2 separate regions of the Homo sapiens genome follow, and region 2 is linked to region 1. The links are contacts of gene promoters, found by promoter capture Hi-C in blood cells and fetal thymus (Javierre and others, 2016). All regions are on one chromosome and are shown on one strand. Each heading gives the region's core, a stretch centred on a gene start or on the middle of the fragment in contact. The rest is flanking DNA. Distances are from core to core; before and after follow the strand shown.

Region 1 (6,686 bases), core at 3,953-6,452:
TCTATTTTATTCACGAACACAGTGAGACATAGACAGGAATCGACAGACATCTACAGTGAGGGAACCAATTTCTTCTTCTGAAAATGACTGAAAGTCACTGATTAACCCATAAATTTAAAGGACAAAATAAGTATATGTTACACAAAAACAAAAGTAAGATAACACAAAACTGCAAATGTCCTTAATAAAATCAGTCCAGAAACATCATCTGAATTACATACAACTGCTACAGAAAATAAAGAACCTGTAGATTAGTAGGAATTCCTAACTTTGTGAATGTTGTCTGTGTGTATTTTTTTAATCAACTGTTCATTAATGAATATGTATGGAAAAGACAGGCTATGAAGGCATAAAAGTGTTTTTGGTGTGTCATTGTCATCAGTTCTACTAAATAATTATCATTACACATCCAAAAATATCTTGAATGGATAATACTGAATAATCTAGATTGCCAAATTGCATTAGAAGGGTATTAGCTGACTCAGGAGACTAATTATAATGAGATATTGAACTGCTTATCTCTCATCTCAATCTTAAAACCATAAACCACACTGTATGGGCAATGGCTGCCAATCAAGGCCAGTGTGGGGTAGTGAAAATAGCCTTGAACGAGGGGTCAGGAGCCTCAGCTCTGTCATTAACTCTGTAACCTTGGGAGCGCTTCATAAAGATCATCCTATATGAGAAAAGCAGGGCCCTTCTTTAGAGAAATACAGCTGTACTAGTGGCTGAGACTGCTTATTCACGAAAAAATACTCTTAAAATGCAGAAAGACTGCACACACACACACATGCACACACACATACACACACACACACACACACACACACACACACTGACTCACCTCTCCCAGACGAATACCTTCTTGCCTAATGGGCCAGTTTAGTGCTACTATTAACCAGATGATTATAATTTGAGCAAGTGTTATCCATCCATGTCCCCAAAACAGAAGCTGACATAAAAGTTATCAAATGCTTTTCTCACCCATAGAATTTATCAGCCAGAGGTCAAGGCTGAAATTATTATATTTGTTTCGGAATCTACTTTTGAATAACAATAATATCGTTATATGGTGTTTTTAAATTTCCAGACACCTACCAACTATTTCATTTATTCCTGATAGCCCAGTAGAGTCAATGGAACACATTTTCAGAAGTGTGCTAGGACTGGTGTTGGTGCTGAGTGCTTCCCATTCAGCTAAATTTGGGGACACAAAAATTATTAAGACAAAGTTACTGACTTCAGTTTGCTTTTGATTACTGGTAGAAACAACACATTGCGTTGTAACAATTTATTTACACATCTTGGATGTCCTAAGGGAGCACGAAGGAGGGAATTGTTATTTCCACTGGAAAAAGAAGTGTGTGTGTGCATGGCAGGGCTGAGGGAGGGAAGGCAGAGGGAGATGTCAAACACAGTTTCACTGAGAAGGTGACTTTGTTCCTGGATTAAAGTCCCTGTTCTATCCCTTCCTAGGAGAAGCTCTGAATGCTACCGAATCTCTGTGAGCTTGAGATTCCTCATCAATTAAATATAGATAATAATACTGAATTCATAGGGTTGTCAGAAGGATGGAATGAGAAAGCATATGGGAGAGCAATTTGCAAGTAGCAAAGCACTCAATAAAGAGTGTATTATTCTTTCCACTTTGCACACTCACTAACTTGGTTCACTCCAAAGGAGAATGGCTTATCCAAGAGGGCCCACACCTGCAACAAGGAGCCAGTGTCCCCGCTCAGACTCCAGTGGTCTTCCCCTGACTCTGCCCACTGAGACTCTTGAGGAAATATAGAAAGCACTCATCCTGATAACATTTTATGAGCTCTAAAATCATGTTAACATATTCATATAAATACATATTCTAACATCTAAAGACATTTCTGTGAAATGCTGCTTCTAAATCCTAAGTGGATTCTCTCTGTAAAAGGAAGAACTAACAGAGCATTGTAAGGGAGGAATCATGATTGGGAAAATCATCAGTATTTAATATGAGAATAAAACAGTCATACACTTTTTTAACATAAAAAGTTTTAAACTACCCAAAGTTTCAGAGAATAAAATATGGCAGATCCTCAACGTTTAAAAGGGATTTAACTGTGGATTTGAACAGAAAACATTTGAATAGACATGTGCCTTGCATTTAGTGGGTACTCAACAACTGTTGAATTCAAAGATTTAACCTGATCATTCTTATCCCTAAAATTATAATACTCAAATTTCTCCCTTTATATAATATCTATAAATTTTGCTTTAATCTAATATATTATAGTCCATTTTCAGTACTTGAAAGATAAAATGTTATTTAAATCTGGTAGTCTCACCCATGTTTAAAAAAACAGGAAAAATAAAATTGCTCTTACCTTATTAATAATAGGCCTGGAAAATCTTAAGTAAAAAAACTGCACACTGCGTACCAATGTATTGGGAGATGGAGACATTTGATATCCATGGGAGATTCACAAATAGTTGTGTTTACTGAATATATCAATTTGTATTAGTTGAAGTTCTCCAAAGAAACAGAACCAACTAAAGGTAGGTAGGTAGGCAGGTAGGTAGGTAGATGGGTAGATATAGTATAAGGAATTGACTCATGCAATTAGGGAGGCTGGCAAATCCATAATCTGCAGAGATGATGTCTGAGTTTGAAGGCCATCAGGCCAGAAAATTCTTCCCATCAGGCCAGAAAATTTTACCATCGTAGAAGATAAGACATTTCTCATCCCAAAGGCTTTTCATAAGACCTATAAAAATATGCAAATATCTAGTCCTAAAAACTAGACACAAGCTCTGTGCAGAGAAACAGCACTTTATAATGTGCTGTTTCCTTTCAGTAAATGGAATATAATTTTGGTAAAAAAAAGTTTTCAAACACACGTTTGTAGAAGGTAAAAGAAGACATCTTTCATCCCAAAGACTTCTCATAAGAACCTATAAAAACATGAGAAAAGCCAGCCCTTATCTGAGGGTAGATCAACCTTTTGGTCTATTCAGGCCTTCAACTGATTGGATGAGGCCCACCCACATTACGGAAGGCAATCTCTCTCCCTCATCCAGTCTGCCAATTTAGATGCTAATCTTATCCAAAAAACACTCTCACAAAAACTTCCACGATAATGTTCCACCAGATATCTGAGTACCTTATGGCTCAGTTAAGTTGACCCATAAAATTAACCATCACACTATCCAAAAAAAAAAAAAAAGACTCATGATTTTCTCTAAATTTTGTGTAAGAAATTGATCACCAAAAACAAGTCACTTCAACAAAACACCAAGAAACTGATTTTCTTTTTAGACAAGAAGACAGTTTAAGCTGCTAGAGACCGGAAGGCCCTGGACCACTAATCAGAGTCCTTTGGGTCAAAGTTGATCTCCCCACTTATGAGCTATATGACCTGGACACACTACAGTTGATCCTTGAACAACAAAAGTTTGAACTCTATGAGTCCACTTAGACATGGATTTTCTCCCATCTGTCATCCCTGACAGGGCAAGACCAAGCCTCCCTCTTCCTCCTTCTCCTTCACCTGCTCAACATGAAGCCAACAAGGATGAAGACCTTTATGATGATCCACTTCCACTTAATGAATAGTAAATACATTTCATTTTCCTTATTATTTCCTTAGTATCATTTTCTTTCCTCCAGACTATTGTTAAGAATACAGCATATAAAATGTATAGCATATAAAATATGTGTTAGTCGACTGCTTATGTTATCCATAAAGTTTCCAGACAACAGTAGGCTATTAGTAGTTAAGTTTTTGGAGTGAAAAGTTATATGCGGATTTTTGACTACACGAGGGTCAGTGCTCCTAACCCCCATGTTGTTCAAGGGTCAACTGCCCTTACTTTATTGAGCCACATCTGCATCATCTATTAAAATAGAGAAATAATAGTCTAGACTGAATAGAGTTGTTGGAAAAATGAAATGAAATAACATGTGTAACACATGTCTGTCACATAACAAGTTCTCCATAAACATTAGCTATTCTGCTATTAATAATCATTGTTATAACTATGAGTTCTAATTCTAGGCCTGCTGAAAGCTATTAAAATATGGCATGACTGCCTTAACTGGGATACTATTTCTATTGTCACACACTTGGGAATCTTATTGGATGTTTATATATATCATTTTATCAGTTCTTTACACACATTGATCATTTGGCCACAGAGCAGTTGTACAAATAGATTATTTAGTAACCTATCAATTCAATCAAAATAACTTGCTCTATTACAATCAGTGATGGGGGAGGAAATCCTCCAAGCACCTTGCTTGAAGAGAAATGTAGAAACCACATCGGGCAAAAAGTCCCCCTCCAGCCACTGTGAAACCCAAGTTGTCGTCAGTAACTTGACATTCTAGGGTAGGAATCAGGACAGGAGAGAGGTGATCTCTCCTTTTGACCTTGTGTATTCTGACCTCAGAAATAAGAGCTGGAATTGCCTTCTGGAATGGGCCTGTCACAGTATTGTGTGATTTGGGGGACCCCCTTCATCTGGGAGAGAAGGGTGGTCTCAGCTTCCACCTCAGAAATTTCTGACCCTTAATATACCTCCACCCCATCTCTAGTTAAAGGCTTAAAACTCTAAGATTTTCCTATGAGGACAAAAAGAAAAGGAAATCTGAGCATTTGAAGAAATTCTTAAAAGTCGATGAGTGAGGTTTCCCTCACACATGCCATCTTCCCCTACCTCTCCTCTTGAAAACAATGTCTTTTGCACCCTCAAGGTCAAGGTTAAACCCGAGTTGGTACTCATTTCCTTTCTGATTTTATTTGCCTTATCCTGTTCTACTCCTCAATTGCCTCTTCCAGAATCTGTGCAAAATAATTACCTCAACTTCAGGGGAAAGTTTAGATGTAAATACCCCCGCCCCCCTCCCCACGTCCACACATCCCCTTTCTTCTCTCTCCCTCTTAACATTTCCTTACGCTCTCAGCCAATAGAGGAGTTGAAACATTTAAATGCGGTATCTAAACTGCATTTAAAGAATTAACCCATTTTGCCCCTCACTGGTCTAAACCACAGGGTGCCAACCGGACGTTAATTGCTTTCATCTGGTGGGGTTCCAGACAGCTCCTCAGAAGGAAGGAGCGCACATTCCTGGCACCAATTGGCTAATTCAATTTACTTCAGCGGCATTAGCCTCTGTCAGAATATTCATGAGCAGGGGAATGAGGACCCGCGGTACAGGCAGGCAGCAGCCACTCCTGCTAGGGAAGGCGCGAGGGAGGGGAAGCGGACCGCGCGCCACGCTCGGGGGACGGTGACCGCGACCAGGGGGCTCTTCTCACTGGACAGGCCGAACGCGGTGGCCGCGGGAGGGCAGGGCAGGGCATCGGCGGGGTTGGTGCACTTGGCAGTACCCCCCAACTCCTGGCAACCGCACGGAGACTTTGCGAAACATCCGAAGGCAGAAAAGCTGTGACACTTCTGACAGAGGGGGTAGGGGGGTGGGGGGCGGGGACAGCGCCGCGAGCAGGGGTGAAGAGACCCAGCGGGGCACCAGCCGCCCAGTGGGGGAGGCAGCTACGTGAGCAGAACGCCCGCCCTGGAGCAGTTAGGACCGAAGGTCTCCGGAGAGTCGCCGGCGGTGCCAGGTAACGCAGAGGGCTCGGGTCGGGCCCCGCTTCTGGGGCTTGGGACTCCGGGCGCGCGGAGCCAGCCCTCTGGGGCGAAATCCCCGGGCGGCGTGCGCGGTCCCTCTCCGCGCTGTGCTCTCCCAGCAACTCCCTGCCACCTCGACGAGCCTACCGGCCGCTCCGAGTTCGACTTCCTCGGACTTAGTGGGAGAAGGGGTTGGAAATGGGCTGCCGGGACTGGGGGAGCTGCTCTCTGGAAGCAGGGAAGCTGGGGCGCACCGGGGCAGGTGGAGGACGTGGCGCGCTGGGAGCGGGGACTGCGCGCGCCTGGGGATGGTGACTGGGGATCCAGGAGCGCGGCTTGTGGGGGCGCTTGGCACGGCTTCACCCTCGCTGGCCCCGCAGGCGGTGGCGCCTCCCTCCGCCTGCAGAGGGGACAGGGTGGCCGCGTCCCTCGCACAGAGATGTGCGCCGGGAAGGGGACCAGAGAGCCAGGCTCCGGGGAGGCGCAGGCACCTACGGGGCCGATCCCTGGTCCGTGCCTCGCGCCGCGCCCCCGCCGGAGCTCGGCTGTGGGAGGAGAATGTGGTGGGTACTCGAGTCCCCGCCACCTGCCGGACTTCGCCAACTCCCCGGATTTCCTGTCCTCGGGCCCTGACACTCCCAAGGAAAGCTCTGAATTGCGCTCGCTGTTTGGTTTTTGCTTGTTGTAGTTACTCTGGGGGAAGAGCCGGGGGCAAGGGGGTCAAATGGGGCTAAAGTTTCAGATTTGCAAAGAGAACGTTACCGAGGACTCTCAACGTGTCCTTAGCAATCGGAGAGACTGCAGCAGCCTTTGCCTAGCTATCCGCCTCTGGGGCAGCAGTGGGGGCTGAAATCTGGAAGGCAGCCCGGAGGCAGCGTCAGAGCCTTGTTTTGTTTTGTTTGTTTCTGCCGAGACCAGGCTGGAAGTGAGAGGGGATAGTACCAGACAATCGGGGAGTTGGTCGCCTGGTAGATTCAGAGTTTACTATGTTGTTGCTATTATTATTAATGCTCTTGTTATTGGCACGAGCACCAGGAACAATTTTTTTTCTGATTGTTATAAATCGCCTGCAAATTGAA
Region 2 (6,940 bases), core at 3,734-6,233, 1.3 Mb before region 1:
GGATTGAAAATAGCCTGCTGACAATTCTTCCGTGAGAATTTCTGTGACTCTCTTTCTACGTCTCTTCCTTTGGATAAGTTTACTTATTTTTATACAGAACTAAAAGGAGTGTGATTGAATTACGCCACTCTTTGATTCAGCTGGCAGTGGCAGCACAGTGTAGTAACTGGCAAGGACTCTCAAGTTGTGCTACTCAAAACACATGATCCCTATATGCTCCCATTAATAAATTCTGGGAAAATCAAACATTTTTATGTCTTAGCATTGATTTGGAAACCATCTGTGGTGCATTATTTACAAGTGTTTATTTTTAATTAACTATTTTTGCCTTTTTTTTTTTTTTAAATTGGAAGAACCTCTTAATGACTTGAAATCCAGTTTGAGTCACCTCTTTAGTCATTGTTACATGTGGTAAGGGAGTGAGAAAGGCTCTGGATTCAAATGCCAGGTTGGAGTCTCAGCTCCACCACTTGTGTTCATTATTTGGCCTCTATGAACTTCGGTCTGCTTCTTTAAAAGGGGTAATAATGGTACTGTATTATAAGATTGTTGTGAGTACTGAATGAGATAATCCATGTAGGGCATTTATTATTATTATTATTTTGAGACAGGGTCTTGCTCTTTTGCCTAGGCTGGGGTGCAGTGGCATGATCACAGCTCACTGCAGCCTCAAATTCCCAGACTCAGGCGATCCTCTCATCTTAGTCTCCTGAGTAGCTGGGACTACAGGCAACTGCCACCATGCTTGGCTAATTTTTGTATTTTTTGTAGAGATGGGCTTTTGCCATGTTGTCCAGGCTGGTCTCAAATTCCTGGGCTCAAATGATCTGCCCACCTCAGCCTCCCAAAGTGTTGAGATTACAAGTGTGAGTCACTGCACCTGGCCAATGTAATGCATTTAGCGTGATTGTGACCACGTAAGTCATCATGGGCATGTTAGCTATTAAGATGATTTAAAAATGATCACATCTTAGTTCTTGCAATTTTACACTGAAATTACTATAAGTAAGCTTCTCCTCACGTGGAAGTCATTAGCTTTACCTGTAAATATGATTGCGGCATCTGCCTATGTTTGACTTTGTAAAGTTTGATTCTAGGTTAAGAGAGGATGACTCATGTCTAAGCAAGCAGTCTCCATTTGAGGCAAGGTTTTTTGTTTTTGTTTTTTTTTTGAGACAGAGTCTCGCCCTGTCACCCAGGCTGGAGTTCAATGGCATGGTCTCGGCTCACTGCAACCTCCGTCTCCCAGGTTCGAGCAATTCTCCTGCCTCAGCCTCCCGAGTAGCTGGGATTACAGGTGCCCGCCACCACGCCTGGCTAATTTTTGTATTTTTAGTAGAGATGGGGTTTCATCATGTTGGCCAGACTTGTCTCAAACTCCCGACCTTGTGATCTGCCCGCCTCACCCTCCCAAAGGGCTGGGATTACAGGCATGAGCCACCGCGTCTGGCCAAGGAAAGGTCTTGAGTGTGCTACACTTGCCTGTGTGAGACTCCTGGTACTCCCTTGCAGTAATGAGTAGATTCGCCCGCAGGTAAAACAAAACCGAATCATCAAATTTGATGTAGTAGATTTGTATTGAGTCAATGAAGCTAAGCTGGAATGATAGTTCCCTGAATTCCCTTCCCTGCAGAGTTTCCTGCATAGTTAGTGTGGTCCAGAAGAGACACTGATGTACGAGATTTGGAAGGCGGAAGAGAAGCAGCAGCATGTTGCTTTTATGCTCAGAAGGTGGGTGCAGGGCCCGGGACCTGTTCTGCTCACGTGTGTGATTGCACCTCTGTTGGCCGCCCTGGGGACATGGGCAGCAGCTGGCCTCACAGCTGCTCCAGCTTCTGTGCCCAGGGAGTGTGTTTACCTTTGTGAGGACGAGTACCAGCAGGTCACGTTCCTCGCTGAAGTTGGGGGCACTGAGAGACTGAGGTGGGATTCGGCCTGGCCACGTATGTTCCACCTTGTCCTTGTAGGCCATGGTTTCTCCTTGCTTTTTCCTACTCACGCCCATCTTTTCTTCTTTAATGACAGACCCATTCCCTCCAGGGCCTGGATACAGAAACAAAAGCCCCGTAAACTGCTTAGTCAACTCCCACAGTTCTGTGGGGTCAAATCACTATAATGAATCCCACTCTTATGAGTTCTGCTTCTTTGCTGGAACCCTGATTGACACCGGGTGTGATAGCATTTTAGCCTTCAGCCATTGGTACTGAGTCCTCTTGAGAAGAGCGTTGTGTGTGCACATGTGTCTTATCAGGTATTGGTAGGAATTTAAAACATAGAGATGCTCATAGGCCAAGCAAATATTGCTCAGTTCCATTAAATAATCCCTGGAGCAATTTCTGGTCCTATCATGAGGGTCAATAAATAGAATGTTGGAGTTTTTGTTTCTTCTTTTCCTTTATCATCCTCTCTTTACTTTTCCAAGTTGCCTCCCACCCCCACTTTTGCCCCAGGTCTGTATTTTAATTAATTAGTCAAAATTTTCATTGAGTGCCTACTGTATCCATGCTGTATATGTGGGAATGTATCAGGCATTGTGCTGGGTACTATGGATAGAGTAGAGAACAAAATGGAAATAGCTTAATGTTGGTCCTCTTGGAGATAGGTGTGAAACAAACAAGTCAACACAGGGATACGTAATTGTAATTTCCAAAAGAACTATGGAGGAAAAGTTACCTACAAACATATCTAAGTTACCTTCTTGACACTCAAGGTTCCTTGGTACTATAGCCTGAATGTTTATATTCCCTCCAAATTCATAGGTTGAAACCAAAACCAGAGTGACAGTATTTGGAGGTGGGGCCATTGGGTAATGATTACGTCATGGTGGCGGAGCCCTCATAAATGGGATTGGTGGCCTTATAAAAGGGACTCTAGAGAGCTCCCTTGCCCTTCTGCCATGTGAGGACACAGTGAGAAGATGCTATGACCAGGAAGCAGGATCTTAACTGACATCGAATCTGCCTTAATCATGGACTTTCCAACCTCTAGAACTGTGAGAAATAAATTTCTGTTTTTTGGTAAGACACCCAGGCTATGGTACTCTGTTAGAGCAGCTGGAACAGCCTAAGATAACTGGTCTTATACAATATGTAGGAAAGGAGAATGTATAAGAATGGCTACCAGGAAAGGTATCTGCACATCAACATTTTTCAGTGTTTAGCAGCCCACAAGGTTGCAGTCTATATGGTACAAACAAAGCCCTGGAACCTTATACTCCCCAGCACAGTTATCTTGGAAACTTCTATCAAACTGAACTATATGAATCATACATTTATTTTTGTTTGACAATTCAGAGAATGTCTTCATATCTTTTCCTCCATTAGCGTTAGGTGATCATGTGAGCAACCCATTTCTCATAGGGCTAATTTATAAGTCTTGATTTATGTTATGCTAGATAACAAGTTTTAATTATAAATAGTAATAGAAAAAGCAGGTCTTTAATTTTGAACTGTCACATGACTTAGGTCACCATCCTCAGCTTTGTGGTAATCTACCATGCCCATCACCTTGTAAGGGATCGTAAGAAATTCATTCCCAACCTTGGTGCTCTTCACTTTCTCATTTTGTCCAAGCTTCTCAAGTTGTATTTTTTGTTCTGTAAATAATTTTCGTCAATATATTTTCTTAAAAAATATAAGGCCATTAAAAAAAAGACAAAGCAACACTCTAAACACAGCAATTATTTTTCTATCTTCAAATTAATTTCCAGTCGTTTTCACACAGGTACATATTTCTTACATAAATTAAGTAATTTGCAGTCTAGCTGAAGAAACATACAGGGAGAAGTTACTGCTGCTGTGCAGTAGATGGCGCCAGACACCAGGTTACTAATCAGCCTGTATTTAAATTAAACGTCTTTAAAATTGCTGAATAAATTTCATAAGTTTGATAACATCTTACTCATTTTAGTTGAGGAACATCAAATTGGCTTAGATTACATTTTTTGTCCAATTGTCATATAGTCCAAAGTTTAACATTTTAAAATGTCATATTGTGAAAAAGTGCTATTTATTTTGGGGAGAATTTTTAAGGGTTTTTTTAAAATTACACTTGTAGAAATTCTATAAATAAAAGTATGCTTAGAGGCAATTATTTTATGTGCTAAAAATTACACATTTATAGTGTTTAAAATACTTTTTGAATTATAGTAGTAAAAAATTGCCTGTTAGGCTGGGCACAGTGGATCATGCCTGTAATCCTAGCACTTCGGGAAGCTGAGGTGGGAGGATCGCTTGAACATAGGAGCCTGCAGTGAGCTATGGTTGTGCCACTGCAATCTAGCTTGGGCCACAGAAAAATACCCCATCTCAAAAAACAAAACAAAAAAATGCCTGTAATCTGTGTGTTGGTGAGGCTGATTTTACTAGCTCTTAAAAAAGGTTTTGTCTTTTATCACTATTCATCTTTTAATACTATTCTCAGGGAGTATTGTGTGTAATGGAGGTGTTGTAGGCAGATGAAATAAGGTGCTGACTTACTTTGTAGGTGGTTAATAGTTTCTTTTTGTAGCAACAACTCAGAATGGGGAGTTTTTAGGTGAATGTCAAGCTTTGGTAATTGAACAGAACCAATCCAGTAATTATTTCAAGTTAGCATTTTAGCCCATCAATGTAAATAATGCTGGATTAGCAACATGTTCCTGTTTTTTACATAATGGAACAGTGTTTCTGTTAGGTATGAATATCCTTGGAAAGTGATATTTTGCACATCTTTAAAAATGCGTGGCTTTATGCGTGAGCTTAGTTCTTAGCTTTATACACACAATATACATATTTCTATTTTGGGTAAAGTTAAAATAACCAAAATAATTAATTATTCTGGCCTTTTTATGTGGCCATTTGACTCTTTTAAGTGTGTTAAAATATTTGCTTTACAAGTAGCTGGTCTTTGCTTATGTTTAGATAAGTACCTGTGTTATTGCCCTGTTCATTTAGTAATCTAAAATTCTAAGCCAGGGGAGCCATCACCAGGTGATACGGTTTGGCTCGGTGTGCCCACCCAAATCTCATCTTGAATTATAATCCCCACATGTCAAAGGAGGGGCCTGGTGGGAGAGATGATTGAAAAATGGGGTTGGATTTCTCCCTTGCTGTTCTCATGATAGTGAGTGAATTCTCACAAGCGTTGATGGTGCTTCCCCCTTCGTGTACACTCTCTCTCTCCTGCTGCCATGTAAGGTGTGCCTTGCCTCCCATTCCATCATCACTGTAAGTTTCCTGAGGCCTCCCCAGCCATATGGGACTGTGAGTCAACTAAACCTTCTTTTTATAAATTACCCAGTCTCAGGTAGTTTTTTTATAGTAGTGCAGAAATGGACTAATACACCAGGGGTCTTATAGTTAGTTGTTTCTTAGTAGATATTCTCATTTATATCATGTGGGGATTCACTTTGGTACATAATTAAATTTCCAAGAAAACTGAAGCTTTTTTCTTAGCCAAATATATAAACTTAAAAAAATTTCTATTACTTGGAAATTTCTTAGACATCTTCTTCCAAATTACACTAAACATTTGACGATCTCTTTCTTAATGAGATGTTTTACTTTATAGTGCTAGTCATTATTTTATTTTTTGCTGCTTGCTTCTAAATGGAATATTCCTATGGAGTGGCTGTAATTCATCGTTTCTTGCATTTTATCATTTAGATAACCTAAATACAAAAAAATTATCAACCACTGTAGCATGGATATAGATATCAGAATGGATGCTAGCTGAAAACACCTGCCTGATCATACCAGCATCTCCTAGTTAAATATTGGCACCTCCATTTACTTCCTCTAGTCTGACTCTCTGTCCAACAAATGGCTTTCTGATGACTAATTTGGATCGCAGGTACTTTGATTGGTGGAAGAATATGCTCTGGAGATGGAATATAAATATTCTGGTTACCACTGTAAAGGTGCATCCCCCTTCACTGTAAATAAATGAGTTGGCATCCAATCTATTGGTGACATGAGAGTTTAGTAGCTGATCTGAAAAGCTGAGGATCAGCTACATTATGGCCAACCCTCCAAGCTGGGAGGCTCTTACAGAGAAACCAGCCCACCCTTCTCTGCTTGTCTTGTCCTGCTGTATCTTTCACATCTCTCCCTTTCACTCCAATGCTATCATCAGCAGAGAGTGAGAACATCTAAACAATGTTTTAATGTGGTCTCAACATTGACCACAAAAAAAAAAAAAAAGCCATTTGGGTTTTGGATAAGAGCCCAAGTTTTAAATCATTAAACTTCTCCATTTCAAAGTGAAGAAGTTTAATGATTTAGTCTCAGACTAGCATGATTGCTGATAGTATGAACTCTGCAATTAAACTTTGTGGATTCAAATATTAGCTTTCCCACTTACTAGACCTATGAGCCTGCTTTCTTCCCTGGAAAATGGGGATAACAAAAGTTCTTAATACAGAGACTTTTAGGAGCAATAAATACATTCAAGATTCCAAAATAGAACTTAGCATATCATCACTATTCAGTGAAGCTTCACCATAATTACCTTTGCTGACCTTGGTTGGGGTTTTAGCACTGCTCAAGTGCTAATCATTCCTTGTGGTAGTTATTTTAAAATTTTCACACTTTGCTCAAGCTTTTCTCTCTCCAATTCCATCCCTTTTTCCTGATTACCATGTCTCCTTCTTCACAGATAAAATATAAACGACTGAATGTAATCTTTCCCAGCATCCCATCATCTGTAGATTTTTTTGCCACATATCCTTTTAACTAAAGGATTGTTTCTCAATGTATGGTCACTAGACCAGTATCATCATCATCACCTGGGAAACTGTTAAATGGCAGATTCTGGGGCCTCATTGCAGACCTACTAAATCAGATTCTCTGGGGGTAGAATCCAGGGATCTATGATTTAACAGAATCTCCCAGGGAATGCTAAAGTTTGAGCATCATTGCTCTAAAGCTTGGGGGTCTGACATGCAGGTCCACTTGACCAG

The links. The method cuts DNA at HindIII sites, captures the fragments that hold promoters and counts their contacts. A CHiCAGO score of 5 or more calls a contact.
Region 2: a fragment that was not itself captured here is called in contact with the fragment with the promoter of CDH20 in region 1 in 1 of 17 cell types (M2 macrophages); the score reaches 5.2 in M2 macrophages.

The regions. Positions count from the first base shown.
Region 1 is chr18:61,328,228-61,334,913 of GRCh38, forward strand. It overlaps CDH20 (cadherin 20), which reads left to right and starts at 5,203. Exons shown (of 12, transcript NM_031891.4): 1 at 5,203-5,600. The HindIII fragment of the contact is 13,774 bases long and covers 1-6,686 here.
Region 2 is chr18:59,984,497-59,991,436 of GRCh38, forward strand. No RefSeq gene overlaps it. Among named protein-coding and RNA genes, the nearest start is that of PMAIP1, 88 kb to the left of the region's middle. The HindIII fragment of the contact is 875 bases long and covers 4,547-5,421 here.